Regions from separate parts of the Homo sapiens genome. Here all the other regions are linked to region 3. Evidence: promoter capture Hi-C in 16 types of primary human blood cells and fetal thymus (Javierre and others, 2016). All regions are on one chromosome and are shown on one strand. Each heading gives the region's core, a stretch centred on a gene start or on the middle of the fragment in contact. The rest is flanking DNA. Distances are from core to core; before and after follow the strand shown.

What was found. Contacts are between HindIII fragments. The CHiCAGO score rates a contact against its expected background, and 5 or more counts as called.
Region 1: a fragment that was not itself captured here is called in contact with the fragment with the promoter of MS4A12 in region 3 in 4 of 17 cell types (total B cells, naive B cells, M2 macrophages and 1 more); the score reaches 14.9 in total B cells.
Region 2: a contact is called between a fragment that was not itself captured here and the fragment with the promoter of MS4A12 in region 3, in 1 of 17 cell types (total B cells). The highest score is 5.7, in total B cells.
Region 4: a contact is called between a fragment that was not itself captured here and the fragment with the promoter of MS4A12 in region 3, in 2 of 17 cell types (naive B cells and total B cells). The highest score is 5.9, in naive B cells.

What each region holds. Positions count from the first base shown.
Region 1 is chr11:60,610,307-60,616,824 of GRCh38, forward strand. LOC105369321 (a long non-coding RNA gene) reads right to left here. Exons shown (of 6, transcript XR_001748240.2): 5 at 938-1,101. It overlaps LINC00301 (long intergenic non-protein coding RNA 301), which reads left to right and starts at 5,445. Exons shown (of 7, transcript NR_026946.1): 1 at 5,445-5,546. The HindIII fragment of the contact is 7,080 bases long and covers 1-6,058 here.
Region 2 is chr11:60,387,180-60,393,655 of GRCh38, forward strand. It overlaps MS4A7 (membrane spanning 4-domains A7), which reads left to right. Exons shown (of 7, transcript NM_021201.5): 5 at 2,211-2,417; 6 at 5,506-5,607. Among named protein-coding and RNA genes, the nearest start is that of MS4A14, 6.0 kb to the right of the region's middle. RefSeq lists an enhancer at 2,318-2,387. The HindIII fragment of the contact is 3,483 bases long and covers 1-3,312 here.
Region 3 is chr11:60,489,787-60,496,384 of GRCh38, forward strand. It overlaps MS4A12 (membrane spanning 4-domains A12), which reads left to right and starts at 2,992. Exons shown (of 7, transcript NM_017716.3): 1 at 2,992-3,042. RefSeq lists enhancers at 1,238-1,977, 1,978-2,715. The HindIII fragment of the contact is 5,161 bases long and covers 840-6,000 here.
Region 4 is chr11:60,593,794-60,600,631 of GRCh38, forward strand. It overlaps the pseudogene MS4A19P. Among named protein-coding and RNA genes, the nearest start is that of LINC00301, 19 kb to the right of the region's middle. The HindIII fragment of the contact is 7,883 bases long and covers 1-6,443 here.

The sequences.
Region 1 (6,518 bases), core at 1,269-3,768, 120 kb after region 3:
AAAAAATATGGCTCTAACTAAAAGCAAAGTAAACAAAACACACCAAACACACACACACACACACACACACACACACACACACACTCACAGAGGTCTTATTCTTAATTCTTCTCTGAATAAAGTGAAAAGAGAACAAACATGGATTGGGTATATAAGAACATATAGATTTCTACTCCAACTAAATAGAATTTAAACTGACAGCTATTCAATGCTATACTTAATAATGTAATCAAGTTTGAGTAGAAAACAATATGCCCTTTATGATCAATCATTGTCTTGGGGACTGTCTTTTCATATAGCATTGTCTTTGGCTTTCAATCTATAGAAACAAAAAAGAAGGGAGGATGGAAACCAGGGAGAAAGGGAGAGAGGACAAAGAAAAAAACTAAAAAGTATCAAAAGCACATGGTTTAATTTAAAAATCTCGCCTGGTGGGGTGGTTCACACCCATAATTCCAGCACTTTGAGAGGCTAAAGCAGGGGAATTGCTTGAGCTCAGGATTTTGAGACCAGCCTGGGGAACACAATGAGACCCCATCTCTACAAAAATATAAAATAAAATAAAATAAAATAAAATAAAATAAAATAAAATAAAATAAAATAAAATAGTAAAGTAAAGTAAAATAAAATAAAATAAAATGCATAAAGTTGAAAAAATTACCCAGGAGTGGTGGCACATCCCTGCAGTCCTTAGCTACTTAGGAGGGGAAGGTGGAAGGAGGGCTTGTGCCCAGGAATTCAGAGTTACAGTGAGCAATGATAGTGCCACTGCATTCCAGGCTGGGTGACAGAGACCTCATCTCTAAAAAAATAAATAAAATAAAAATCTCAATGAGGAGAATACTTCTATTAGAATTATTTCCAAAATTCTAACCCAAATTCTATAGTTCTTTATTTTAGAGTGTGCTAATGATCAATTTACTGATATCTAACTTACCTCAGGTTCATGGCAGAAGGAGATCCTTTCTCTGCATATTAAAGAAACCATCAGTGAGCTCAGTCAAGGAGGAAAGTTTAGTGGCAAATGAAGAACTTCATTCTGTTCAAGAGGCTTCTTGGAAAATGTAATTTCATTAAATCCATCTCAGTATTCTCTTCCCCCTATTTCATTAATAAAAATTAAAATTGATGAATATGGTTATTTTTGTCTACATGAGGAACTGTGCATGAATTTATCTCAGTTTGAATATGGTCAGCCTGAGTTAAGGGATTCTTCCATACAAGAGAAGTTCTATGAATGGGCACATGTTACTAGAGTAGAATCTATACCTAAAATTGATAATGATGTAATAAATGCTAACTCGAGAAAATTATTTCATTGTGAGAAGGAGACTTCGCATAAATGATAAATAATCCCATTGCTTGTGAAGGCTTCTTTGCTTATTAGCTCTAAATACTACTAATTATTTCTTTCTCACTGGATATTATTAAAACATGCATAGCTTACCTACAGTGAAGAAGGTATATTACAATTAGCCATATCTTTATGTTATTGAGACTACATGAATTAATAGCTACTGGATTTAGTTTGTCTAGAAAGTCCAGCTCCCAAAACGTTACATATTTTTGCCTATAATTTTACACTGTGGCTTATCACACTCAAATTTTAAGCAAATTATCTTAGAAATGTTTTGTTGTGTCTATAAGGATGCTTCCTATTTTTTAAATTTTCTTTGATCTCCATACCCCACTCCCCCTTCCCTCCCTCCATGAGCAATTGTTCCACTTTATAAAACATGCATATTTTATTTGTCAGTATCTCCCCAAAAATGTATGGCATTCTATTGTAGGAATGTATCTGGAATCCATGAAGTTCATACACACCCATAAATTACATGCACAAACTTTGCTCCTCCTAACAGTAAGTTTTAAAGATCTATCCGTGTGGCTATCAGTACCTCTATCAGTTGATTTTAAATGCTGCCTAAAGTCTGTGCCATGCACCCCGCACATTTATACATTCGCTGTCCCAGAAATGGGCAACTGGGTTCCCCCCATCTTGCCCCTTAAGTAATTTGGGGGGATACAAATTCAAGATTAGAGTATCTGTGTTATTTACATATATGCCATTTGTTTATGAAGTGCAAAAATTTCCACCATTTAGAACAGTCTTCTGTTGCAGGTCCTTTATTATTGTGTGTTTTTCTTCAGTCTAGTCTGTATACTTTTGTTCTCTTAGGAATTCACAGATTCTGGTTCACCAAGAGAGTTGCTTCTTATTTTTCAATGTGGCAATGGAATTTTTTTTGTAAGTGTGCTCCTTGGAATTGGAGTTCATATGAAGAATAAGTAGCATCTGCTTGGTCTACCTTCATGAACTAAAAACCACAACTGTGAGAGAGACTTGCATAAATGTATGGGTTGAGAAGAAATACAAAGCAGGGAGTAATATTTGAATATACTGGGGAGAAAGAGATAATTGATGGATTAAGGTTTATAAGCCCTTTGAAGGACATGAGATTAGTAGCACAGGGACAGATTACACTTTAGAATAGAGGAAAGACACCTAATTCTGATCAAGTAAGAAAATAGTGAAAAATTAGCTTTAATGTAAATGTTCTTTATCCATTCCTCCATATGAGAAGGATAAGAAAGAACATGAGAGACTTTGTCTTTCCTTTGAAAAAATTGACAAGGCAGTCATTTAGGAGTGAGGGGTGGTAATGAATAAAGTACTTGTTTGGATTAAGAGTTGCCAGGAATCAGAGGCAAAATTGGCCAAATTATACTCAACGATTTAATTAGAAGCACAGATGAAGATACTGGACTTTCAGATGACATCTTTGTTGGGTGTCTATCCATGCCATTGTGAGAGTTTCCCTAAAATATCCTACACAGAAAAGGTGGCATTACAAGGTGGCAAACTTGCATTTGTGGGTTTTAATAAGATGATAATTAGTGGATCTGTGGGATCCAGGCTGAATGAGGAAGGATATGATGCCAGAAATTTTGAAAGAAATGTAGAGATTGGGGGCCAATAATCTGAAAAGGGGCTGCTAACACCTAAGATGCCTTTGTGCAAACTAGACAAAAGTACCCCGTTCAAAAGGACAGATTGCTTAATAACAGCTCCTCTGGGAAAATGAAATAGAAGGTAAGTCCCCTCTGAACAGTACAATTAGAAATTGAGGCCCCTTCCTCCTAGCTAATCAACCCAGCACCAAGGGAGTCTGCCCTGCAAGTGGAGACCAGGTGCAACTGCAGCCCCAATCTTTGACCCCATTTACATGCATCCTTGAACAAGGTCCCAGCTTCAGAGCCTGAGCTAGTTTAACACAAAGAACAGCTCTAGATAGGGAGTCATGACATGGCAGATCTGAAAGATATTTGTTTTTGATCACAGAGCAGGATATCACAATTGAGATACCGGAGAGAATGAGCCGCAAATGTAAATATAGGGTAGCTCCTCCATTTATTCATACATTCATCATAAACTACTTTTTGACAATCTACTTTGCACCAGGCATAATTCTTGCTTCTGGCAACAGATTTAAACAGAAGAGACAAGATCCTGCCTTCAGGGAGCTTATATTCTAGGGAGAGGAAGTCAGTGACACTATATGGACCATGCACTGGTCAACAAAGCAAATACATAAAAATTTAAAAGGCCAATCTCTCCTTCCCCCATAAAAAAAAAAAGAAAAAGAATCATAGTCACCCTTGGAGGGTGTTCATTATTTCAAAATTTCATAAGTAAAGAGATAAAGCACACATCTTGCCTTTCATTTTTGTAACAGTTTCATTGAGATATAATTCACATATTATAAAATTTACCTATTTATTTGTGGGTTTTTTTGTTTCTTTGTTTGTTTTTGAGATGGGGTCTCGCTCTGTTGCCCAGGCTGGAGTGCAGTGGCGCAATCTCAGCTCAGTGAAAGCTATGCCTCCTGGGTTCACACCATTCTCCTGCCTCAGCCTCCCAAGTAGCTGGGACTACAGGCACCCGCCACCATGCCTGACTAATTTTTTGTATTTTTAGTAGAGCCAGGATGGTCTTGATCTCCTGACCTCGTGATCTGCCCGCCTCCGCCTCCCAAAGTGCTGGGATTACAGGCGTGAGCGACTGTGCCCAGCCTGAAATTTACCTATTTAAAGTATATAGTTTAGTGGCTTTTAGTATATTCACAGAGTTGTGTAAGTAACACCACCTAATTTTGGACCCAAACCCATTAGGAGTAATTCTTATTCTCCACCCACTTACCTCAGTATTAGCAAATCACTGGTCTACTTTCTGTCTCTGTGGATTTGCCTACCAGGGCTATTTTATATGAACGTCTTTTGTGACTTGCTTCTTTCACTTACCGTAATGATTCCAAGGCTTATTCATGCTGTAGCATAAACTATAACTTTGTTGTGTTTCATTATCAAATAATACATTATATGGATATACCAAATATTGTTTGTTCATTCATGAGTTGATAGGGATTTGGGTTGTTTTCATTTTTGGCTATTAGGAATATATAAGAATGCTCCTATGAACATTTGTGTGCAAGTTTTTTTTGTAATGAGGACTTTCCTGACTCCCCTCATTTACATTTCCATTGACGCCACCTCCCTTTCATACTTTATTATTCTCCTTAGCTCTCATTATTCTTAACATGCTATAAATTTTCCTTATGAATCTTATTATTGTTTTCCTTATTATTAGAATTTCATCTGTTTTGTTCACTACAGTATCCCCAGCATTGAGAACAATGCCTAGCACATACTGGCACTCAGTGGAAATTTGCTAAATTCATTAATCATAAAAACGGCAAACATAAAAGAGTTCAACAAACATGACTGTCATCTATTACTCATTAGCCAGCTGATGCTAACACTTTAATAAATTAGACAAAACCTTGCAATCATTCATTTATTCCTACTATGTGTTGAGGATAGTTGTTAAACACTGAATATACAACTCAAACTGTCAGGTTCAGCATGACGGACATATATGCACCCGGTTATTGCAGTGGAATATGTTTGTAATCGCAGTGGAATGTGTTTGTAAAACATCTTTGGTTTTCAAAGTTCTGCAGTATAAGCGTATGAGGTACCTGAGCGGGTATCATCTCCACTCTACAAAATAATAAACTAAGGACCAAAGGAGTTAAGTGCAGTGCTGTACCCACCACATCTTGCAGAGGATTCTAAGTGGCAACGAGCTTCTGACAACGATGCTGCTTCTAAGCGGGGGTGTGTCTGGGGTTAGCAGTGGGGCCACCACGTGATCAGTCCGCCGACAGATCAAGCACAGCCTCTTCCTCCTGGGTGTGCCAGGCCCAGGGACAGAGGATGATGCCCACACAGCCAGCAAAGGGCAGCATTGTTGTCAGCCGCCACCCCACCCTCGTCTTGGGAGCCTGCAGGCTCCGCGGAGCCATGGGAGCCCCACCGCGCCTCAGGTGTCCGCGCGGGTCTCTCGGACAGCCCCGCTCTTGGACGTTAGAACCCCGCGAGGCAGGGTGAGGGGCGCCACCGAGGAAGCGCCCACCGGGCTCCCGGGGCTGCCAGGCCCCAAATTGAGGAAGTTGACTGCCAGATCACACTCTGTTGGCCCACGCGTGAGTGTAGGGATCCCTGGTTGGATTTGCACTGGCGCTGGGAATAAAACTAGCACCTGCTGAGGGTCAGGTGTTCCCCACGACCCCATAGTCACAGTGTTTTCCAAACCACTTCCAGTTGGAAAGAGCCTTAATTAATACTCTGTGGCACTTTTCACGTATTTCTTTCAATACCTTTTCTTCCAATGTGTGTTTTCAATAAGTGACCTGTTTGACACACCCAGCATCCTCTCATGTAAAAATAAATTGGCTAATTCACAGGAGGAGAATATGGAGATAGTGTAGTGAATTGGGGATCCCAGGGTCATGGTTGTGGCAATAATGACTCTTACTTTCCATCTTTTACCATCTTTCTATATTCTTTTTAGCTTAGGAGATGCGCCTTGGGTTTTGCGCTAGAGATCATATAAACAGAAACTCATATTTTGGATGATAGGAATGGTTGATTTCCAAGAACAGTAACTTAAGAGTTTCCCTGATTGTGTGTATTCCCTTTCCTGGCTGACCTACAAAGCTTTAGTAGGGAGAATCCTTAACCAGGATTATATAAGTAGATTCTGCTGCTGCTCCTCTGGAGCAGGCCACAGAGTCCTCGTGTGAAAAGTGGCTCTTCTGAGAATCGCCTCTTGAAATTCATATTGTCTGCGTGTATAAATTCAATTTGATCCTTAACATTGAAACCGAGGTTTGCTTTCTCAAGACTTTTTAGTACCTGCCGCATGTCTCAGTCAAGTCTGTTCTATCTCCTTGGGTTCATCTGCTATGGAGAAAGACAGTATGTGTCTTTGGGGTAACCTTCCAAGGCTGCCCAAAACTAATTCAATAAATGCCAGAGAACCTATGCTCTAAGGCTGAACTTCCCAAACATGTTTCATGACTGGCATAAACAAATCTACCCATTTATACGTAATGTGGTAATGTATCATGCATTTCCTGGTAACACATCAGCCAGGAAAGGGAATACACAATCAG
Region 2 (6,476 bases), core at 321-2,820, 100 kb before region 3:
AATGTCCCCATTCATAGAGTTGGGACTTCACACAAATTCTAGCCCTTCAGCGTCAGGGTGACCAATTGTTTGGTTTTCCCAGGACTGTCTCAGTTTTAGCCCAGAAAGCCTATATCCTGGGAAACCCCTTACTCCCCAGGCAAAGCAGAATAACTGGTTTACCCTACTCTGTGACCGTGGTAACAAGTTGAAAGAAGTCCATGATATATTTTCAAAGTTCTACTATTTAAGCAACTGAAATAAACTTCTTTCAGTCAAATATCAGGTGGGGAGGCATTCATTCCCCTGTCAGAAGAGGGTGTTGCCGTCTTCATCCAGGCTGGAGGAGACTATTTCCATCCAAAGACTCATGCTTGATAATTGGATGTTTGAGAAAAAAAATCAGTTTAAAGTAAGGTGGGAGAAAATGAGGGTGATGGAGTAGGGGTGAGGGGGATGTCTGCAATGTCAGCACTGATTGCAGCACCAAACTCAAAGACAATACCACTCATGCCACTGCCAACATACCCCTGGCTTCCTCAACAACTTTAGAATTATTATATTGCCCTAAGTGCATCTAGAATATGACCTTTGGTCCCTCCCTAGAAACCCAATGTATGTCTTCTTACTTAAAAGAGCGGCTTCAGAGAAAAGACAAAAGCAAACTGAAGAAGTTGGAATACCTACCTACAGGTGGATCAGGCCTATGAGAACCACATTCACCACACCATTTCCCAACTCCTCTTCTACATTTTAGGAGACAGGATTCTCCCATAGCATGACGATTCACTAGCAAAGACACTGATGTGCCAGGCTCTGTGCGAGGTTTCCAGCACATGCTCCTCTCTGTTTAAGCATCACTGGAAGACAATGTATGTTGGGAAGGATGGTTGTCCTGCCCTTTTCTACTCCAGCTCTGTAGCTATATGGATTCATGTGCTGAGTCTTTGAAGGAAAAGTAGTCCCAGTGGGCAGTATCTTTGCCCAAAGCTACCATATGAGCAATGGAGCCCACATGTTGTTCTTTGTCCCACTTGTGGAGCCCACATTGTTGTCAAGTCCAAGCATAGATTTCCCTTTCTGTGTATTCAGTGCATTTGGGAAGCCACTTCTGAGATCAGAAGATTCATCTTCCACATTTTATAAAAGAGATAACTGAAGCCCAGAGTAAGAAGGACTTGCTCAAGCACACAGATGGATCAGTGACAGATGGGTCAGTGACAGAGCTGGGATAGGAGGAGAGGATTTCAGTTTCTAAGTCCAGAACTATGACTCCAACCAATGAATGCTGTGAACTCTTCAAAACCCTCTTCCATAATCCTGGGTTCTAGACTGCAGCTTCAATCATCAGGAGCATATACCAGCCTCATGCACCATCCATGTGTCCTCATCTGTGCCTAGCCAGGCCCTGTATCTTCTTGAGTCAGGATGTGGCTTTTCCCTAAATCACCTCTATGGGTGTGTGGCAGGGAAGAGAGAAAGGCTGCTACGGAGAGAAGCAAAGGCTTTATAGCTGCTTCCTCCCTTTCTCCCTCCAAGGTTTGTGGGAAAAGTGGCTACAGTCTGATAATATTTCTGTTTGTGAATGGGTGGAGAGAGAAGCACAGGGTCTAAGCCCATGTGCCTCTGCCTCATGCCCTGTCACTTAGGAAAATCGAAGGCATATGCTTGTCATATTGAACAAATATTGATTGTCAATTCAAGATCAATTGCTTGTCAATTGAAAGCCTATTTTATGTTCCCACAGACCTATAGATAGGTTTTCCAACTTTTCCAGTTTGCCTCCACCTTTTCTCTGAAGCTGCTCTTTTATGTAAATCAAAGTCATGGATTCAGTTTACCAGAGGGGACCGAAGTCCATATTCTAGAAGCCCTGAAGGCAACAGAATGATTCTAAGGCTATTGAGGAAGTCATGGGAGATGTTGGCAGTGACCTGAGCAGCACTGTCTCTATCTTGAGTGCTATAGAGAGTCAATGGGCCAGAACCCCTCTCCCTAAGGAGGAATTATCCATGCATTTTCTTATTCAATAAGCATTTACTAATTATATCACATGATTAACTAAATAGCGACAAGAGATACAAAGATGAATAAAACACAGTTTGTGCCCACACAAGGAAACAGGAAGGAAACAGACCCAAGGAAGCACCATTGCAGTACAATGGACAGAGGACTAATAGTGTCACGTGCTGATTCTGTGATGAGAACCCAATGCAGAGTTTCTCTTCCAGGACCTGAGCAGCTTGACCTCAAATGCAGTGAGTTCTGTTACTGCAGGAGCAGGCCTCTTCCTCCTTGCTGACAGCATGGTAGCCCTGAGGACTGCCTCTCAACATTGTGGCTCAGAAATGGATTATCTATCCTCATTGCCTTATTCGGAGTACTATTATCCAATATATGAAATCAAAGATTGTCTCCTGACCAGTGTCAGTTTAACAGTGAGTAGTTTCAGACTGAATATCCTGTCATGTGAAATCTCTGTGTCTCCCCTTTGCATACTCTCTGCTTTTCTGGCAGTCTCTGGTTGGTCGGTCCGAATGCCTGGAGACAGACAGAAATAAACAAAAACTTGTGGTTGGAAGAGGCCTGTCTGCTGACTGCATGGTGTGGGGGATGTACTATAGAAAGTCAAAAGAGGAAATCATGAAGGACAGTAGGGAGTCTATCCCTCCACTGGTCTTTCTTAATCACAAACGTTCCAACCTTAATGGGTTTAACTCTTAAAGTACAACCTTTGTTGTACTCATCACAGGCAGAAATATTCTTCCTACTCATCACAGGCAGAAATATTCTTCATTTGAATTATATTTTAATTTGGGATTCTTTTGGGTTCTTTTCCAGGGGTTGGATGCCCCTACCCCTTAAAGATGCTTGTCTTCTGATCATCAGTGAATTGAGGACTAGCAGAGGCTGTACGGTGTTTAAGTTAATCTTCAAATGCAAGCCTGTATGCTACATTATGTTAGGCACAAAACTTGAACCTTAAGTCCAAATACATAGTTATTTTGTACTTTGGTCTAACAGGGCTGACAGAGAGTGGTGGGAAGGGAGACAACGGATTTGACTTCTAGAAAAAATGTCAACCTCTCTGGGCAGCATTTTCTTGGCACCTTTCTCCCAAACTTGATGATCACTACCTGTTCGTGGTGACAAGCCTTGCTTATTCAATCCTATAAATATAGTATCATGGTGTTAAAACCATAAACCAGTGGCCTTTTAAGAAGAAAGACTTCTTCCTCTATGAATCCTCCTAGTAGGAGCACAGGGAACCCAAGGTAGTATCTCTCATTCCCTTGGATCCATCTATCTCACAAATCTCAGAAAATGTGTGCAAGCTTTTGCACTCCTGTGGGTCTGCTCATGTGACCCAGAGATTGTCAAAAGCAACCCCTTTGGTTCAGGAGCTTGAGGAAGTGGAAGAGCACAGAGACCTGTCTGGAGGAAACCCAGTAGATAGTGTCATCCTGGTGTAGGACAGACATGTGGTAAAGCAATGGGGGTGGGAGAGGCATATTGGGGGTTTAATTTAAAGAAAATGAATTTCATTACCCCAAACTGCTTCCCATTCTGAGACAACTGGAGTCCAAAAGAACTTCCTACAATATGAGAGAAGTTGCAACATAGCAGACTAAGCAGACTCCAAAGGCCTACTCTTTGTTAATTAACACAGCAATTACCTGAACAAAAGTAATGAAATTTTAAAAATTAAAAAATATATAGCCAAAGTTGGAAGAAGAAAGGAAGGGAGGGCAGAAGGAAAAACAAATCTAAGAAGAAAGATGACTTAGGTTCCAGAAGCTAAGAAGGATCCTAAAGCCAAATCATCAAACAAGAGCTGAGGCCAAAATACCAAGGAAGTCTGAATAGGAATATTGGTATTAGAGGCTAGGATCACACAGTTTTAACATCCATGACAAGATTTGGCATTGGACAGGGCCATAAAGCTCATATGGAGTACCCTGCAAAAATGTTGAAAGCTGATACTGAATATTTACTCAATTTGTGAAAATAATATAAGGAAAATTCTGCCCAACATCCCAAGAAGTTTCAAGAAAACCTTCCGTCAGCTCACTAAGCTTTGTGCAAGTGTGCCATCTGAATTCATAATTACATATAAAATAGGGGGACCTCAAATAAAAGCATTAAGTTAAAAACTGTTACGAGATATGTGAAACTTCTAAGGTTCTAGCAGAATCAAATCTAAAACTACTATCTAAGGAGATGTCCGTAAACCCAACTTATAAGATGCCTCCCTATCAAAGAACCCTACCACTACCACCATCTACAAACTGAAGTTATCTAATAACCAAAATATTATGAGAAACATAACAACAGCACAAAAAAATGAGTAGCGGCAGCAAATGGGGAAACATGAAAGTCAGAAGCTCAAGAATTGGAGATAACATAATAATTTGAACAAGGCTATTATGAAAATACATTTTAAATCATTAAAGATGTTTAAAAAGTAATAGAAACCAGGCCAGGTGCAGTGGCTCACAACTGTAATTCCAGCACATTGGGAGGCTGAGGCGGGTGGATCACCCGAGGCCAGGAGTTTGAGACCAGCCTGGCCAACATGGTGAAATGCTGTCTCTACTAAAAATACAAAAATTAGTCAGGGAGGGTGGTACATGCCTGTAATCCTAGCTACTTGGGAGGCTGAGGCAGGGGAATCACTTGAACTCGGGAGGCAGAGGTTGCAGTGAGCTGAGATCACACCATTGCACTCCAGACTGGGTGACAGAATGAGACCCTGTCTAAAAAAAAAAAAAAAAGTAATAGAAACCAAAATGGAAAAAAAAAAAAAGGACAGTAAAGGAAAAAAAAGATATGTGCATTTGAGAAAAAAATGAAATCACATACTTGGAAATGAAAATTGTCTTTGAAATTAAAAACTGAGCAGATCAGTTAAACAGCAGATTCAATATATTCAAGGAAACAAAGAGTGAAATGGAATTTAGATTTGATTAAATCACACAGAACACAACACATTATGTGTGTTTGGAAAAGATGGATGAAAGCCTAAAAGGTATGATGGATGCAGGGAAGTGGAGAGGTTCAGTACATATCTAGTAGGAGTCCCAGTGAGAGATTATAAAAGAGAGAGTATATGCAAAAGTAAATAACTAGAAATTTTTTAGAATTTAATAAAAACATGAGATTTCAGATTGAAGGAATGCATTGAGACCACTGCAGGATACACAGAATCAAATACACACCTAGAAATATCATCATGACAATAAAAACACCATAGTCAAAAAGAAAATAATAAAAGCAACCAGAGATAAGTGGCAGATTACTCTCATCTATCATTAGGTGGGATACCAAAGTTCTGAGATGATGCCGTTGCTGCTTATTTCCCTTCATCTATTAAGAAATCTGAAAAAGAAAGCAGAAAAGAGGATTAAGCAATTTTCCCTGTCTCCTTTTCTCTGCATTGCTGGAGCCTCATCGCCCTGTCTCCTCTTAGCCAGGCACAAGGGCTAGCTTGTCTTGGGTACCAGCCATTCATGTCCTGATTTGCAGGGTGTCCTAGTGGTGATGCTCATCTTCACTGTGCTGGAGCTCTTATTAGCTGCATACAGTTCTGTCTTTTGGTGGAAACAGCTCTACTCCAACAACCCTGGGGTGAGTATGCTGACATGTCGCCTGATACCTGCTGTGTCTCAGGTCCAGGCTACAATAATCCAACCTCAAAAAGTGGCAAAAAGAAGAATCAATTATTGTTCATGAGGTGCATGTGGAAGGCCACTTTTATAATTAAAAAAATGAGTTTAACAGTGAAACCCCATCTCTACTAAAAATATGAAAAACTAGCCAGGTGCAGTGGCACACGCCTGTAGTCCCAGCTAGTTGGGAGGCTGAGGCAGGAGAATTGCTTGAACCCAGGAAGTGGAGGTTGCAGTGAGCTGAGATCACACCACTGCACTGCAGCCTGGGTGACAGAGTGAGACTCAGTCTCAAAAAAAAAAAAGAGTTTGTATAAATGGGCTCCTTCTGGAGGACACTCTGGTCATCTGGGATCAGCTGGTGTCTACTGGGAAGCAGACCAGTTAGAGAATTGCTTAATATGAAGCTAGTTGGTTTTAGAAATCACATAGCCCAACCCCTCATGAAAGAACCACGGCTTGGATAAAATTACATAGAAAATGAATGACACAGACTATTGGGCTGAGAATGAGAACGCGTATCCCCTCACTTTTATCGGGAACACAGCTACCTGCCTCCCGAGAGAGTCTCCCTAGCCAAGTTTCCTTGTTAATGTGATGAGACTTTACTAGAATGTCTCTGTCCTGTTTATGCTTCCCTGTGCTCTTCCTTACATCCCCTTAGCTCTTGATGTTATAATTTTAAAATATTTTCATTTCCCCTAAAGGCTACAACAACAAAAGAAATGTTTATAGAATTTGGATGAATTATGATTTAACTATGATCCTATTTAAAATAGTAAAATAATTAGCAGACTGGAGAATTGCATTATTTTTAATTAATATTGC
Region 3 (6,598 bases), core at 1,742-4,241:
AATAAGGTTGATCATGTTATACCTTTCCAGACAGTAATCATGATTCTGTGGGCTTTCAAAAACAATGCTTACTTCATTTTCCTTTAAATACCTTCAAGCCTTTCAGCAATATTATTGCCTGAAATTGTCATTTTCTTAAGCTCATAACATTAATAAATCTTCAGCATCTTTTTTCTATTTTAGAAAAATATATAAAAATGTAAACCCACAAGAGAAAGAAAACTCTCAATAATACACAAAAAAAGAAAAAAGAATCTGCACTCATGCCACCAACTCTTTTAATGTATATTTAATGAGCCTTAACATGTGTGAGACACTGTGCCATACATGGAGTTGGAGGTGGGGATAGATATCAGCCCCTGCCCCAAGGATCTCTGGTCTCAAGGTACTCATTTGTACCTGAGATACAACCTAAAATAAATAACTGGAATGTGACAGGACACTTCCAAAAAATAAAACAGCACGCCACTATTAAGAATTACAATAAATAGGCCAGGTGCGGTGGCTCACACCTGTAATCCAGCACTTTGGGGGGCCTAGGCGGGCATATCACAAGGTCAGGAGATCGAGACCGTCCTGGCTAACATGGTGAAACCCCGTCTCTACTAAAAATACAAAATATTAGCCGGGCATGGTGGCGGGCGCCTGTAGTCCCAGCCACTCCGGAGGCTGAGGCAGGAGAATGGTGTGAACCCGGGAGGCAGAGCTTGCAGTGAGCCGAGATCGCGCCACTGCACTCCAGCCTGGGTGACAGAGCAAGACTCCATCTCAAAAAAAAAAAAAAAAAAGAACTACAATAAATATGTTTATCGACATGAAAAGATATTTATAGGACATTAAGCTTAAAAGCAGGTTATGAAGTATATATACATTATGATCCTAACTTGATTTTACTATGTAAAATACATACATGCGCACACAAAAGTTTACAAATCAAAATGCAAATACTATCATTAATTATGTCTGCGTGGTGAGATTGAGTGCTTTTTCTCTCCTTTTTTTATTATCTGCATTTTCCAATTTTGTCCACCTAATTTAAAAGGCATTAAAATGCAGTATGGCTCTCCCTCTCCCTCTCCCTGTCCCTCTCCCTGTCCCTCTCCCTCTCCCTCTCCCTCTCCCTCTCCCTCCCTCTCCCCCTCCCCATGGTCTCCCTCTCCCTCTCTTTCCACGGTTTCCCTCTGATGCCGAGCCGAAGCTGGACTGTACTGCCACCATCTCGGCTCACTGCAACCTCCCTGCCTGATTCTCCTGACTCAGCCTGCCGAGTCGCCACGCCTGACTGGTTTTCGTATTTTTTTGGTGGAGATGGGGTTTCGCTGTGTTGGCCGGTTTGGTCTCCGGCTCCTAACCGCGAGTGATCCACCAGCCTCAGCCTCCCGAGGTGCCGGGATTGTATACGGAGTCTCGTTCACTCAGTGCTCAATGTTGCCCAGGCTGGAGTGCAGTGGCGTGATCTCAGCTAGCTACAACCTCCACCTCCCAGCCGCCTGCCTTGGCCTCCCAAAGTGCCGAGATTACAGCCTCTGCCCGGCCGCCACCCCGTCTGGGAAGTGAGGAGCGTCTCTGCCTGGCCGCCCATTGTCTGGGATTTGAGGAGCCCCTCTGCCTGGCTGCCCAGTCTGGGAAGTGAGGAGCGCCTCTTCCCGGCCACCATCCCGTCCAAGAAGTGAGGAGCGTCTCTGCCCAGCCGCCCATCGTCTGAGATGTGGGGAGCGCCTCTGCCCTGCCACCCCGTCAAGGATGTGAGGAGCGCCTCTGCCCAGTGGCGACCCCGTCTGGGAGGTGAGGAGTGTCTCTGCCCGGCCGCCCAGTCTGAGAAGTGAGGAGCCCCTCCGCCCAGCAGCCGCCCTGTCTGAGAAGTGAGGAGCCCCTCCGCCCAGCAGCCGCCCCGTCTGAGAAGTGAGGAGCGTCTCCGCCTGGCAGCCACCCCGTCCAGGAGGAAGGTGGGGGGCCAGTCCCCGCCCAGCGAGCCGCCCCGTCCGGGAGGGAGGTGGGGGGGTCAGCCCCCGCCCGGCCAGCCGCCCCCTCCGGGAGGGAGGTGGGGGGCGCCTCCGCCCAGCCGCCCCTTCTGGGAAGTGAGGAGCCCCTCTGCCTGGCCATCACCCCGTCTGGGAGGTGTACCCAACAGCTCATTGAGAACGGGCCATGATGACGATGGCGGTTTTGTGGAATAGAAAAGGGGGAAAGGTGGGGAAAAGATAGAGAAATCAGATTGTTGCTGTGTCTGTGTAGAAAGAAGTAGACATGGGAGATTTCATTTTGTTCTGTACTAAGAAAAATTCTTCTGCCTTGGGATGCTGTTGATCTATGACCTTACCCCCAACCCTGTGCTCTCTGAAACATGTGCTGTGTCCACTCAGGGTTCAATGGATTAAGGGCGGTGCAAGATGTGCTTTGTTAAACAGATGCTTGAAGGCAGCATGCTCGTTAAGAGTCATCACCACTCCCTAATCTCAAGTACCCAGGGACAAAAACACTGCGGAAGGCCGCAGGGTCCTCTGCCTAGGAAAGCCAGAGACCTTTGTTCACTTGTTTATCTGCTGACCTTCCCTTCACTATTGTCCTATGACCCTGCCAAATCCCCCTCTGTGAGAAACACCCAAGAATGATCAATAAAAAAAAAAAAGAGACTATAAACATAATTTGAGTGTTTAGAAATTTAAAAATAAAATCCCAGTAAAAAAAATAAATAAATAAAAATAAAAATAAAAAAATGCAGTATGATATTGCAATGATTGAGCATTAGAAAGCTGGAGAAAATAAATACTAAAGTGTTTGGGAGGGTCACAATAGGCTTCCCAGTAAAAATTAGAGGAGGATGTGAAAGCACAGCGTATTCCAAACTTTACAGTTGCATTTACATCTCTTGAGGTGAAAGAGAAATAACCATAAAAGGACTCTGGAACTACATAAAGATACAAGACAAATTGGTTTGGAGAACGGAAATAAAATCTACCTATAAAATCCAGGTAAATATCTGATACTGGCACACAGGTTGGAGCAGAGAAAGAGGAAACATAGAGGTGCCAAAGGAACAAAGTAAGTCCATTGATACGTTCTTGCCTATCTCTCCTCCAAATCAATGGGCACAAACTGTGGCTGGTCTACCTGTGTGGGTTCTGTTCTCTAGATTGGAGGGATGAAGACAAGTTCTTGACTCTATGTTGAGGCCAGTTGAAAAATGAGGGAGAATAAAACCATGAACGAAACAAGAAAGAAACAAAACAGAAGAGGAATGAAAAAGTAAGTTGGTTGCTGTACAAGAGATAAAACGGACTGCAAAAAGAAAAAAAAAGCTAATGCTCGCTGGGTGCGGTGGCTCACACCTGTAAACCCAGCTCTTTGGGAGGCCGAGGCAGGAGAATCACCTGAGGTCAGGAGTTCGAGACCAGCCTGCCTAACATGGTGAAACCCCATCTCCACTAAAAATACAAAAATTAGCTGGGCGTAGTGGCAGGTGCCTGTAATCCCAGCTACTCGGGGGGCTGAGGCAGGAGAATCACGTGAACTCGGGAGGCGGAGGTTGCAGTGAGCCGAGATCGCTCCATTGCACTCCAGCCTGGGTGACAAGAGTGAAACTCCATCTTAAAAAAAAAAAAAAAAAAAGCTAATGCTAAGAAAGGTGAATAATAGGTTCAACTGTATGCCATTCCATGAACATGGGCCCAAAAGGACGAGGCCATGCCCCACTGGGCACTTGATGATTATGTGGCTACCACAGGGACAACATAGAACACAGAAGTAATACTGGAGCCCTTGGCTTTGTAACACATTTTAATTAAGGTACTTCTTTCTGACAAGAAAACAATTAAAATTAAAATAGGTAGGGAAAGAACATTCATTTTCACCAGATCAGCATTTTGTGAAAGGTGATATAAGTGTATACCTGTGGATGTACTGGGTGATTTTGTGAAAATGATTCGGTTTCATGTTTTGCTTTATGCTATAAAGTACTCTTGAAAATAATAATCATCTTCACTCTGTCAAAAGTGAAGTTAGCATGAAAATGAGGTAGAAAGAAACTATAAAGAAGTAAATTTTTCCCATTTTTATTTGAAATAATGTAATCACAGAGCAAATTGCTGAGGTTTTCTCTAATTGCTTTAGTCTTATACTTTTGATCTCATCAGAGCTCCAATATTTTTATGTGTTCCTTGTTCTTAAAAATAATTGCAGTTGTTCTAATTCTTATTTTTAAAAAAAGGACAACTAGGGGTAAATATTTTGTCAACTGTCAAGAGAACAATCCTACTAAGTCAATAGGTGGAATCTATAAAAGGAGTCTATTTATTAGTTTCCCTTCTCATGTATCATTTACAGAATTGTCTTCATTTCAATTGAATAATTAAAGAATCAGAACTGGCTGGCTCTGTCTTTAATTCCTTTTATAAAACCAGAACTTGACCCAGTAAAAATGTATTCTGAGTCCTAATAACTATAGACCTAGCCATGAATAATCTGGGTTCTATGTGAAATTTACAGATCTTAGTCCAGAAACTAAACAGCAGATATGAAAGGAGAAACTGTTGATAAATAAATGAAAAGTATTGAGTTTTCCTCATAAAATTTCTCGAGACAAAAAAAAAGCAATGATCAACAGCAAAGGAGAATGTAATGAAATCATATACATGCAGAAACGTGGACAATTCTTTAATTGTATGCTTTTTAAAAGCTCAAAAAAATTCTTGTTCTGGTTAATTACTGTACTCTGAGTACCCATCTCCTATTTCTTTGCTCTTGAAATTGACCCTGTTCAATTCCTTTTATAAACTTTTCCTATGGCCACATCCACTGCCTAAAACAAGATAGAATACCTTGGGATCTAATAATAAAATAATAGTTCCTTTTTAAGCTCTTGCCATGTGCTAGGCACTGTTCCAACAGTTTTGCATAAATTAGGATAATTTGAACTTTAGACTAGCCTCCTTAGGTACCTTCTGTCATTTTACAGTTGAGACATAGGAACTAACAGGGATTTCATTAAGAAACTTGCTTAAAGTCCCAGACTTAGTGAAGTAGCAGATTGAAGATTAGAAAAGAGGGCTTGAGCAATATTTGGCCACCGAAACCAGATCCATAGGATGTATAACCTCACATTCTCAAATGCTATTGAGAGTTACGTGGTGTTACTCCAAGAGTCACAGCTATGGACTTGTTTCCTTTTTCCTTGTTTAAAATAAACTTTTGTGGGCTCAAATGTGTTTACATTTTTTTTTTTTTTGAGATGGAGTCTCGCTCTGTCACCCAGGTTGGAGTGCAGTGGCACGATCTCGGCTCACTGCAAGCTCCACCTCCCGGGTTCACACCATTCTCCTGCCTCAGCCTCCCATGTAGCTGGGACTACAGGCGACCACCACTACACCCGGCTAATTTTTTTTTTTTTTTTGTATTTTTAGTAGAGACGGGGTTTCACCATGTTAGCCAGGATGGTCTCGATCTCCTGACCTCGGGATCTGCCCGCCTCGGCCTCCTAAAGTGCTGGATGTGTTTCCATTTTGAAAAAAAAAATTCCTCTGTAATCAGATATTTCAGAAAGATGTTTTCTCCCTTTTCATTGAGTTTTCAACCATTTTCAGTTGCATCTAGTATCGGAGGGTAAGGGTTATGAGTACAGGTTCTGGATTAAATTCTCTCATTGTGAAATGGGGATTTTAGTAGAGTACCTATCTCATGGGGTTCTGTAAAGGGTACAGAGATAATGTATCTCATGCACTTAACATAGAAATAATAATAGAGCCAACCCTGTAATCGGCACAATTCCACATACTTTGCAGAGAATAACTCTTTAATACTCAAACTGACTCTCTAAGGAAGGTAGTCTTATTAGCTCTATTTTACAGACAGAAAACAAAGGCAAAGAGAGGTTAACAAACTTGCCAAAGACACAAAGTTGGAGTTAGATCCCAAGTTCATGTTCCTAAACATGACACTATACAGACCCTACTGTGCCTATAATAAGTCTTTAATAAATGTTAGCTCTCTATACACCTCACCTAAAGCTTGCTAAAGAGAATCCTTACTAACTCACTCAATCACAAAGAAGTTAATCCGGTTTATAAACTCCTCTCCATGGCATCAGAAGACAGAAGTTTTGTTGTTGGGTAGTTGCAGGAGCAGAGTCAATACCCTGTCACCAAGGCTGGCCTGGAAAACAAGCTGCAAATGTCCAGAGTGATGCTGCATGGAGGGGGATTCTGAACCAACAGCCAAGAATCCCATTTTCAAGTCCTAACTCTGCCACATGTTTTCTGTGTAACCTTGAGCATGTCACTTAACGACTCAGCTTCAATTTCTCATCTGTAAATCAAGGGGAATGAGACAGGATAAATGGAAAGGGTCTTTTCTACCCTAAAATTTCTGGATTCTATGAGCACAGGGTCTGCATATGTGTCCTTGTTAGATACCAGTGATACATTGTACCAATAGGTTATTCATAGTATTCATACTTCATACCAAGAATGAGACATTCATCACTCTAACTTTCTTGATATTCATAAGCACAAGAAAATTGTTGTGCTTTTGAAGACCTCAAAAAAAGGAATCTAAGGCTAAAGACAAATTTTTTAAGTGTCATAATTTTTTTCAAGAATTAATA
Region 4 (6,838 bases), core at 1,252-3,751, 100 kb after region 3:
TTTAACCTAACAGTTTGCTCAAAATGATGATAGCAGCAATGTATTCAATGATCATACCCTATGAATAGATGTAATGAAAGAAAGCAATGATACAAAAGATGAGAGGAAGGAATTAGGACTACTTTGTTAATATAAGATACTTGTACTATCTGTGAAGTAGTATATTGTTATTTGACAAATAGAGTTGGATTAGTTGTAAATGTATATTGAAAACACTGTGGTAACCACTTTAAGAAGTTTTCTTAAATACTTGATTTGCTAATAAAGAAGAGAAAATAGAATCACATAAAATGTTCATTTAAGCCAAACAAAAAGGTAGAAAAACAGCATAATCTGAAAAAAACAATCATGGACAAGGGAAATGAATAGAGACCAGTAATAAATATATGACAGATATTAATCCACCTCTATCAATAATCACTATAAACACCAGTGATCTAAATGCACCTATCAAAAGACAGATTTTTGAAGAGTGAAACAAAAAACAATATTCAACAATATGTTGTCTACAGGAAACCTGCTCTAAATATAAAGACACATATAGATTGAAAGTAAAAGTATGGAAAAAGATATCACATGTTAACACTAATTATCGCTTCTCGGCTTTTAGGCTAAGATCAAGTGTAGTACATGTGAACGCTAATTGAAAGAAAGTAGGAGTAACTATATTAACTTCAGACAGAGCAGATATCAGAGCAAGGAAAATTATCAGGAATAAAGAGAGGCATTGCATAATGATAAAGGGGTCAATGTATGTGGCCAACAGCAAAGTGATAAAATACATGAGGCAATAGCTGATAGAACTACAAGAAAACATATATGGATCCACTATTAGAGTTGAAGACTTTAACTCCTGTGATTAATAAAGACATTCTGCAAGCAGAAAATCAGTATATACAGAGTTGAACTCAACAGCACTGTCAATCATCTGGATATGATTGACACCAATGCAATACTCATACAATAAAATAATACATTTTTCTCAAGGACACTTGTAACAGCCCCTAAGATAGACCATGTTCTGAGTCATAAAATACATGCTAGTCGATTTTTAAAAATAAATATTGTACAATTTATGCTCTCAGATCACACTGTGATGAAAATACAAGCCACATTAGAAAGGTAAGAGAAATGATTTCACTTTGACTATGTCACCTCTCCACAACAATGGCATAGCACCCACCACACAGAAAGGATTTCCCTAGGCCCAAGATTTCTACAAGGGAATAAAGAGGGCGCCCGTGGTGGACATCCAGCTTCCCCAGCATTCTTGGGTGTGTTGCAGGAGGCCCACCTGCCAAATGGGGAACATTAGAAGTATCAGCAGGGGTAGACTATGTGGTGTCAGCTAGAAATAGAAAGTTGGGGCCCACAGCAACCAGCATGTGAATCTTGGCTGTGGCTCTGTATTCTGGTCAGCAGAGGCACCTGACCAGAGAGATTAGCCAAAAGCATCTCTCTGCAGGAAGCACAGTTGAGAGATTTGCCAGGCTCAAGTCTTTGTCTAGCTTTGACACCCAGCATCAGAGCTCTGCATAAGGCTCTCCCAGGCTGAGAAGCAGGTCTGCATTTGTACATTACTACAGAGTGTACCTTCTGGCCCAGCTCAACATGATTAGCTAAGCAGTAACCCAGCCTCAGAGACCTGCATAAGGATTTATCAGGCTGGGAGGCAAGCCAACATATGAGCATATCTGTGAAGCAAAGCATCTGGCTCTGCCTGACACTAGCAGTTGAGCAGAGGCCCCATCAATCTTCAGAACCCAGTCGGAGGTTCTGTCCAGACCCAGGCGGGGAGGGAATCCTATGACTACACATATCTGTGGAATATAGTCTCTGACCCTGACCATTTCAAATAACATTTTCATAATTGAATTTATAGAAGGAAAAGAGAGAAAGCAAGAGCAAGCATATTTAAGAAAATAATGGCTGAAAACTTTTCAAATCTGGAAAAAGATGGCAACATGCAGATACAGGAAGCTCAGAAGTCTTCAACCAAATTAAACCCAAAGAAGGGTTAACCGAGACATATCATGTTCAAACTAACAAAAATCAAAGACAAAGAATTCTGAAAGTAGCAAGAGATAAGAAACATATCATATTCAAGAGGGTTCCAATACAGCTATCGGCAGACTTCTCAGCAGATATCATGCAGGCCAGGAGAGAGTGAATAATATACTTCAAGTGCTGTAAAAACAACAACAACAACAACAACAAAAAAGTCAACCAAGAATGTTTTACCTTGCAAAGCTATTCTTTTTTTGACTTTTTTTCTTTTTTCTTTTCTTTCTTTTCTTTTTTTTTTTTTTGACACAAAGTCTCGCTTTTGTCACCCAGGCTGGAGTGCAATGGCGTGATCTCAGCTCACTGCAACCTCCACCTCCCAGGTTCAAGCCATTCTCCTGCCTCAGCCTCCTGAGCAGCTGGGATTACAGGCACCTGCCATCACGCCTGGCTAATTTTTGTATTTTTAGTAGAGATGGGTTTCACCATGTTGGCCAGTCTGGTCTCAAACTCCTGATCTCAGGCGATCCACCCACCTCAGCCTCCCAAAGTGCTGGGATTACAGGCATGAGCCACCGTGCCCAGTCCTTGCAAAGCTATTCTAAGGAAATAAGGGAAAAATTAAAATTTTCCCAGATCAAAAAAAAAAAAAAAAAAAAAGCTAAGGGGGCTCATCATCACTACACCTGCGTTACAGGAATCATGAAAGGGAGCTATTTAAGCTGAAACCAAAAAAAGACACAAATTCATAACAAAAAACATATAAAAGTATAAAACTTGATGGTATAAATAATACGGTCATATTCAGAATATTCTACTACTGTAATGGTAGTACATAAAGCAATTTTATCTCTAATATGAGTGTTAAAAGACAAAACTTTTTTTTATTTTATTTTATTATTATTATACTTTAAATTTTAGGGTACATGTGCACAATGTGCAGGTTAGTTACATATGTATACATGTGCCATGCTGGTGTGCTGCACCCAGTAACTCAAAAGACAAAACTATTAAAACAACTATAACTACAATAAACTAAGGGATACAAATTACAAAAGATATACTTTTTTGACATCCAAATAACAAATAGGGGAAAAAGTAAAATGTAGACATTTTGTATTGAAAGTTAAGTTGTTATCAGCTTTAAAAGCCTGGTACGACTACAAAATAATTTATTTGTGCCTCATGGTAACCACAATACAAAAACTTATAATACTTGCACAAAATATAAAAACCAAGAAATCAAATCATACCACCATAGAAAATCATCAAATCACAAAAGTCAGTAAGAGAGGAGGAAAGAAACAAAGGATGGTTTAAAAAGAAAATAAACCACAAAACAGCAATGAGTTCTTATATATTAATAATTACCTGGAATGTAAATTGATTAAATTCTCCAATAAAAAAATTAAGTAACTAAATGGACTGAAAAACAAAATGCAACTATATGCTGCCTACAAGACACTCGCTTCACCTTTAAGGACACATATAGGCTGAAAGTGAAGGGGTGAAGAAAGATATTTCAAAAAGTGGGCGAAGGATATGAACAGACACTTCTCAAAAGAAGACATTTATGCAGCCAACAGACACATGCAAAAATGCTCATCATCACTGGCCATCAGAGAAATGCAAATCAAAACCACAACGAGATACCATCTCACACCAGTTAGAATGGCAATCATTAAAAAGTCAGGAAACAACAGGTGCTGGAGAGGATGTGGAGAAATAGGAACACTTTTACACTGTTAGTGGGACTGTAAACTAGTTCAACCATTGTGGAAGACAGTGTGGCGATTCCTCAAGGATCTAGAACTAGAAATACCATTTGACCCAGCCATCCCATTACTGGGTATATACCCAAAGGATTATAAATCATGCTGCTATAAAGACACATGCACACGTATGTTTATTGCGGCACTATTCACAATAGCAAAGACTTGGAACCAACCCAAATGTCCATCAATGATAGACTGGATTAAGAAAATGTGGCACATATACACCATGGAATACTATGCAGCCATAAAAAAGGATGAGTTTATGTCCTTTGTAGGGACATGGATGAAGCTGGAAACCATCATTCTCAGCAAACTATCGCAAGACCAAAAAAACAAACACCTCATGTTCTCACTCATAGGTGGGAAATGAACAATGAGAACACTTGGACACAGGAAGGGGAACATCACACACCAGAGCCTGTCATGGGGTGAGGGGAGGGGGGAAGGAAAGCATTAGGAGATATATCTAATGTAAATGATGAGTTAATGGGTGCAGCACACCAACATGGCACATGTATACATATGTAACAAACCTGCACGTTGTGCACATGTACCCTAGAACTTAAAGTATAATTAAAAACAAAAAGAATTTTAAAAACTGAGAAAAAAAAAGAAAGATATTTCCTGAAAATAGAAGCCAAAAAGGGAAGAAATAGCATACTTAACACCACATGTCAACAAGTATGTGAAGAAAACAAGCCCTTCATATTGTCATTGGAAGTGTAAAATGACACCATGACCTTGTAAAAATATGTGGTCATTCATTCAAAATTTAAATATATACCTGCCATATGACCCAGCAATTCATTGCTAGGCACTTACCTCTGAGAAATAAAAACGTATGTCAAAACCAGAAAACAAAAACTTGCCTATATGTTTATAGGAGTTTATTCACAATAGCCAAAACCTGAAATTGAACTAGGCAAGAAAACTTTTATCTGAAATGTTTTAGTTATTTTAGAAATAAAGCCTGGGTTTTTTTAAATAAAGGTTAATAATTGATTATTTTCTCTGGCTGCAATAAAAGTATAAAAGTGTTGCTTAAAATATTCTTTATACCATCTCACTGGGCACGGTGGCTCATGCCTGTAATCCCAGCACTTTGGGAGACCAAGATGGGCAGATCACTTGAGGTCAGGAGATCAAGACCAGCCTGGCCAGCATAGTGAAACCCTGTCTCTACTAAAAATACAAAAATTAACCGGGCGTGATGGCATGTGCCTGTAATCCCAGCTACTTGGGAAGCTGAGGCATGAGAATTGCTTGAACCTGGGAGGTGGAGGTTGCAGTGAGCCAAGATCCCATTACTGCACTCCAGCCCAGGTGACAGAGTGAGGCTCTGTCTCAAAAAAAAAAAAAAATGTTTATATGGTCTCTATTTTCAAAAATTACTAAAAAACAAACAAAACTTCATAGTAGATGGCAGGGTCATAGAGGGTAGCTTATCCCATGCCTCACACTTTTTTATTGCATCTGGCTCTCATAGTGCCCCTTCATGCTCTTCTTTCTTAATTTTTAATAGCTTTATTGAGGCATAATTGACATATAATAATCAATAAGCTGTACATATTTAAAGTACACAATTTGGTAAGCCATTAATACAATAAGACAGTGCATATGTTACCTCCAACAGTTTTCTCTGCCCCTTTGTCATCCCTCTTGCTTATCCCTCCTCAAAACCCTGCCTCCCCCAGGCATCTACTTATCTGCTTTTTATCACTACAGATTAATTTGCATTCTCTAGAGTTTTATACACATGGAATAATACAGTACATATGCTTTCTTGTTTCACTTATTTCATTCAGCATAATTATCCTGAGATTCATCCATGTATATAAATTATCAATCCCTTTTTTATTTCTAAGTGATATTCAATTTTATGGATATATCACAATTCATTTATCCATTCACCTATTGATGGAACTTGCATTGTTTCCAGTTTTGAGCTTTTACAAATAAAGCTACTATGAACATTTACAAGTCTTTGTACAGACGTATGCCCTCATTTCTCTTTAGTAAATACCTGAGTCATAGGATATATGCATGTTTAACTTTTCAAGAAACTGCTAACCTGTTTTCCAAAGTGGTTGTAGCATATTACATTTCCACTCACAGGCTGAGTATTCCAGTTCCTCCATATTTTCACTCTCTTCTTACAGTGCACTTATTGTATATCTTTTTGTATTAATGATTTATCAAATTGTGTACTTTAAATATGTCCAATACCACCCCGAGAGCAGGAATCAAAACAAGTGTTTCTGCTTGTTTTATTCAGATAAGTTTTTCCCAGAAAAACTTCATGCTCCAGAGAAGAACATCTGCTCCGTGGGGTCTTATTCATGCATTTCCTCAACAAGGTGGCTCTTTTCTAAATAAAAACAGATTATTTTGACATAGCTATTGCCTACTGTATAGTTGAGAAAATGAAATATTTACCAAATATACTTCATTTTAAAGACTGGATTATGTCAACACGCCAAAATTTACTAAGCAATACAGTTGTATGTTTACATAATAATAAACATTTTATTTTAATTTGTCTTTCTTTAAGGGAGATTTGTTACAAAAGAATAAATTAGTTGAGATCACTATACAACATACAACAGCAACTTCAATAAACACATCCTTTATCCAGTGAAACTGGTTTCAGAATTCAGTAGTTTAAGCTTTTGTAGTTATTATCTAATTCATATTAGATAGAAGGAAATATACATATCTTTTTAAATTTAACTTTTATTTTAAGTTCAGGGGTACATGTGCAGGTTTGTTATACAGGTAAACCTGTGTCATGGGGGTTTGTTTTACAGATTATTTCATCACCCAGGCATTAAGCCTAGTACCCATCAGTTATTTTTTCTCATCCTCTCCCTTCTCTCACCCTCACCCTCCAATAGGCTCCAGTGTGTTGTTTCCCTCTATGTGTTCATGTGTTCTCATCATTTAGCTCCCATTTACAAGTGAGAACAGGCGGTATTTGGTTTTCTGTTCCTGCATTAGTTTGCTAAGGATAATGGCCTCCAGCTCCTTCCATGTTCCTGCAAAGAAAATGATCTTCTCCT